Linked DNA regions of Homo sapiens: region 1 is linked to region 2. Evidence: promoter capture Hi-C in 16 types of primary human blood cells and fetal thymus (Javierre and others, 2016). All regions are on one chromosome and are shown on one strand. The core of a region is centred on a gene start or on the middle of the fragment in contact, and the rest is flanking DNA. Distances in the headings are between cores, read along the strand shown. Region 1 has its middle 17 kb from the start of ARF6. Region 2 holds the start of LINC01588 (long intergenic non-protein coding RNA 1588).

The links. The method cuts DNA at HindIII sites, captures the fragments that hold promoters and counts their contacts. A CHiCAGO score of 5 or more calls a contact.
Region 1: a fragment that was not itself captured here is called in contact with the fragment with the promoter of LINC01588 in region 2 in 16 of 17 cell types (activated CD4 T cells, M0 macrophages, non-activated CD4 T cells and 13 more); the score reaches 33.8 in activated CD4 T cells.

What each region holds. Positions count from the first base shown.
Region 1 is chr14:49,908,786-49,911,485 of GRCh38, reverse strand. No RefSeq gene overlaps it. Among named protein-coding and RNA genes, the nearest start is that of ARF6, 17 kb to the right of the region's middle. The HindIII fragment of the contact is 4,514 bases long and covers 1-2,700 here.
Region 2 is chr14:50,006,217-50,008,916 of GRCh38, reverse strand. LINC01588 (long intergenic non-protein coding RNA 1588) reads left to right here and starts at 1,397. Exons shown (of 4, transcript NR_126498.1): 1 at 1,397-2,700. It overlaps LINC01599 (long intergenic non-protein coding RNA 1599), which reads left to right. Exons shown (of 9, transcript NR_131171.1): 9 at 1,498-1,604. The HindIII fragment of the contact is 14,705 bases long and covers 1-2,700 here.

The DNA of each region.
Region 1 (2,700 bases), core at 124-2,623, 97 kb after region 2:
TTTGAGATGGAGTCTCACTCTGTCACCCAGGCTGGAGTGTAGCAGCGCAATCTTGGCTCACTGCAACATCGGCCTCCTGGGTTCAGGTGATTCTCCTGCCTCAGCCTCCCGAGTAGCTGGGACTACAGGCGCCCACCACTGTGCCCAGCTAATTTTTGTATTTTTAGTAGAGATGGGGTATCATCATGTTGGCCAGGCTGGGCTCGAACTCCTGACCTCAAGTGATCCGCCCGCCTCAGCCTCCCAAAGTGCTGGGATTATAGGGATGAGCCACCGCTCCTGGCCTGCTTTTATTTTTTTATCCAAGATTCAGAGGGTACGGGCACAGGTTTGTTACATGGGTATATTGCATGATGCTGAGGTTTAGGCCTCTAATGATCCCATCATCCAAGTAGTGAACACAAGTAGTTCTTCAAACCTGGCCCCCCTTCCTCTCTTCTGCCTTTTTGAATCCCCAATGCCTACTGTTCCCATCTTTGTGTCTGTGTGTACCCAGTGTTTAGCTCCCACTTATAAGTAAGAATGTGCGGCATTAGGTTTTCTGTTTCTGTGTTAATTCGCTTAGGATAATGGCCTCCAACTGCATCCTTGTTGCTGCAAAGGACATAATTTCATTCTTTTTTATGGCTGCATGATTTAATTTTTTAAATTATTAAACTAGAGGGAAGAAGGAAAATAGAACTAATTTCTCTTGAGTGCTTACCATGCCAGATAGGGACTTTCTCATAAGTTACCACTTTTTGTGATAAAGCCTTGCTGGGTGAACATTACCATCCCGATTTTTAGCAGGAAAACTGAGACAAAGAGATAGATTTTCCAGTGTCACTTAGCTATTGAGGTCAGGGTTGGAATTCAAACATAGGTCTATCTATTTGAGACTATTGACTCAAAATTCAATGTTCTTTACCCAAATCAATCCTGTCAGAAAGGAAACTAAAAATGCTTGCAAAAAAAAAAAAAAAAAAAAAGGTAGGAAGGGCTGGACACAATGTCTCATGCCTGTAATCCCAGCGCTTTGGAAGGCTGAGGCAGGTGGATCACCTGAGGTCAGGAGTTCAAGACCAGCCTGGCAAACATGGCAAAACCCCATCTCTACTAAAAATACAAAAATCAGCTAAGTGTGGTGGCACACACCTGTAATCCAAGGTACTCAGGAGGCTAAGGCAGGAGAATCCCTTGAACCCAGGAGGCGGAGGTTGCAGAGAGCCACAAAGATCCCGCGACTGCCCTCCAGCCTGGATGATAGAGTGAAACTCCATCTCAAAAAAAAAAGATAAGTATCATATATGGCTTATATGAGGAAAGGAGGTTCTCTTCCATCTTCAATCCTTTTTCCATTCAATGAATGGCCTTCATAGCATCATACATAGGATGTTTCCAGATCCTAATTTCTTGGGTATTTCTAACACTGTAATCCAGAATCCAGAAATCACAATTTCCTAAATCACTATTTTGATGCTCAGCAAAGCAGCATGGACCCTGAGGTGTATCAGTGGGTAACACTTTAGGTTTTATTAGATTGGGACATGCAGCAAGAAAAAGAACCTAGAAATTACCATAGGTTTGAAAGGAGAAAAATTAACATGTCTAGGATGTCTAAGCATATGGAAACAATAGCCCTGCCAACCATATTGATTGATTGATTGATTGATTGATTGATTGTTTAAAAAGAGATGTGGTCTAGCTGGGTGTGGTGGCTCACACCTGTAATCCCAGCGCTTTGGGAGGCCGAGGTGGGTGGTTCACTTGAGCCTCAGGAGTTCGAGACGAGCCTGGCCAACATGGCAAAACCTCATCTCTATTGAAAAAAAGAAAAAAAAAACAGACATGGTCTCACTATATTGCCCAGGTGGGTCTCAAACTCTTGGCCTCAAGCAATCCTTCCATCTTGGCTTCCCAAAGTACTGGGATTACAGGTGTGAACCACCACTCTTGACCAGAAGGCAATTTAGAAATGTTGTCATGCTAGTCTAAAATCCATACTGTATTCAACAAGATACCCAAGAAATAATAAAAGAAAAAGATATATTAGTATTTATTTAAAACATTTCCCCTAAGATACCACTACCATATTATTATACTAAGCAAAAAAAATAAAAAATAAAAATGTAATGTTTTAGTCTTTAATTCAAGTTTGTCTTGATGACAAAAACAGGATTTAAGATACTTCAGTAAGTTTCTAAATATTAGGTTCTTGTGTAAAATGCATTTACTGTCATAAATCAAGTATTACTCATGAGTTGGAGAGAATTAAAAATGCAATCCAATCTTATAAAAAGAGTCCAAGTCATAAAGACAAGCAATCAATCATAAAAGGTCAAGAATTTTTTATATAATATGCCAGCGTTTACCTTGAGAGACCTATCTATGTTTACCTACAGACTTGATCATTAGTTACATTTGAGATTTTTTTTTTTTTTTGAGACGGAGTCTCACTCTGTTGCCCAGGCTGGAGCACAGTGGCGCGATCTCGGCTCACTGAAAGCTCCGCCTCCAGGGTTCACACCATTCTCCTGCCTCAGCCTCCTGAGTAGCTGGGACTACAGGCGCCCGCCACCACGCCCGGCTAATTTTTTTTTGTATTTTCAGTAGAGACAGGGTTTCACCGTGTTAGCCAGGATGGTCTCGATCTCCTAACCTCATGATCCACCCGCCTTGGCCTCCCAAAGTGCTGGGATTACAGGTGTGAGCCACCACGCC
Region 2 (2,700 bases), core at 148-2,647:
TAATTTCAGTGTTCTTTATTAAAGACACACACAGCAGAGACAGAGGAAGAGAAACCAGAAGAGGGAGGTGAGGATGGAGCCTCTAAGGGCAAGAATGCATTCTTTTTTTTTTTTTTGAAATTTTGTTTTCGTTTGAGACAGGGTCTCACTCTGTCACCCAAGATAGAGTGCAGTGGCACAATCACAGCCCACTGCAGCCTCAACCTCCCTGGGTTCAGGCAATCCTCCCACTGCAGCAACCTCCCCAGTAGCTGGGACTACAGGTGCATCCTCATGCCTGGCTAATTTTTGTGGTTTTTTTTTTTTTTTTTTTTAGAGATGGCGTTTTGCCATGGTGCCCAGGCTGGTCTCAAACTCCCAGGCTCAAGTGACCCACCCACCTTGGCCTCCCTAAGTGCTGGGATTACAGGCATAATCATGGCACCCAACTGAGCGCTGCAAGGGTCTTTTCCAAGCTGAGTGCTGTAAGGGTCTGGGTTAGGCAAGGAAGACACTAAGGGTGTGGCCACTTGCTGTACAGTGGAGCAGGGGCCTTAGAACTACATAGAAGAATGCAAGCAAGCTCCCCCTTTCTCTGGAGAAACAGCATCTCTATTTTCCAAGCATACATGCTATACCAGCATCCTTGGAAAGATGATCAAATAAAAGACAGACAGTGTGTCTGCTTGCAAGATATACAGAAATGTGGCCAGGCACGGTGGCTCATGCCTGTAATCCCAGCACTTTGGGAGGCTGAGGCGGGCAGATCACGAGGTCAAGAGATTAAGACCATCCTGGCCAACATGGTGAAACCCCATCTCTACTAAAAATTAAAATATTAGCTGGGCGTGGTGGCATGCACCTGTAGTCCCAGCTACTCGGGAGGCTGAGGCAGGAGAATCGCTTGAACCCATGAGGCGGAGGTTGCAGTGAGCCGATCATGCCACTGCACTCCAGCCTGGTGACAGAGCGAAACTCCATCTCAAAAAAAAAAAAAAAGGAAATATATAGAAGAATGCCTTCTGAATAATCATTTCTTTTTTGAAATTGTGGCAAAATCTCCCTGGACTCAAGGGATGGGTGTAAAAAGCAGTTAGGCAGAGGATGAGGGCCTGTGCCTGAGGCGTCCAAGGGCAGCCCCAGCTCCCTGCAGATCCAGTGCAGCGGGATGTGCAGGTAGATCTCCCTCCCCAGGGCACAAAGCTGGGTGGGGAACAGCTGTCAGAACCAGCCACACCCCACCCCACCCTGCCCAGGCATCAGAAACCTCAGGGAAATGCCTAGATACTCCACCTCAAGGAAAACATTGAGGCCCTGTAGCCAGGAGTGCCCTGTTTGTGTCTAAAAGTTGCCCCAGCCCAAATTTACAGCTGGGAGGATCAGAAGGGCAATCTCTGTCTTCTCCCAAAAGGAAATCATACCCATAGTTACCACTGGGAGCAGGGTGGGCCGTTTACACTCCTCATCCTACCTCGCCATCACCTTAGGAAGCAGCCATTCTCCTTGTCTTTACTGTAGAGGAGGAAGCCTGGACAGCCTGCAGTTGAGGGGACCTGCACAAGCTCACAGGACTCTTCATCACCATGACACCACGCTCACCGCAAAATAAAAATGATCAAACCTGTCATGATGTCAGCAGCACCGGTGTTGGTCTTTGTGGGAAAGAAAAACACAGGCCAGGGCTGCAGCACGATTGTGTCTGCCCAGCTCTTGCAGCCTGGAGAACACCGTTGGATTCCCTCCCACACATGCTCCCAGGCTGCCTGCCTGCCTCACTTACCTGCTCAGGGTGGGGCTTGAGGGTGGCCCCTGGGAAGAGTAAGAACTGGCCAAGACTGAGATGTCCTTCCCTCATTTAAGGTACCGCCTTTTCCCTTTTCCCGCCATCCTGGGTGCATGGATACTTGGGATTAGAAACTGGACTGGAAATGTAATCTTTCTTCGGTTTGGGGCTGAGAACTGGGGATTAGTAGGATTTTGAGTTTATGGCACAGCCTTTTCTTACACCATTTCCTAAAAAGCAGTTAAGATTACACCAGGCACAGTGGCTTACGCCTATAATCTCAGCACTTTGGGAGGCTGAGGCAGGTGGATCAAGACCAGCTTAACCAACATGGTGAAACCCCATCTCTACTAAAAATACAAAAATTAGCTGGGCGTGGTGGCACGCATTTGTAGTCCCGGCTACTTGGGAGGCTGAGGCAGGAGAATTCCTTGAACCCGGGAGGCGGAGGTTGCGGTGAGCTGAGATTGCACCATTGCACTCCAGCAGCCTGGGCAACAGCAACGAAACTCCGTCTCAAAAAAAAAAAAAAATTACAGTCATCTCCCAGAAAAATCAAGAAGGAAGAACCTTGGAGGTTCAACCTATAGAAGATATGTTCTCATGGAATAAACCAAAAATAATTTTTATTTTCTAAAAAATCAAGAACAGAAGTCTCTCAACATTTAAGTTTTACAAACAAATAGAATCTGAGCCACTGGGTTAAACATGACAAACGACACACAGTAACAAATATTGAAGACATCATAATGCCAAAGCAACAGAAGCAGCACCAGAAATGTTGCTGAGGCCACCATTTAATTAACGCAAGTTGAACATATGGCTTTGGTTACATGTGGTTCCAGGCCAGAGGCATGGAAGTCAGTGTTTGTGGGAAAGCCAGGAGGAAAAGCTCCTCTCCCCACCTCCACCTTGTCACTCCAGGTTCTGGTGACCCC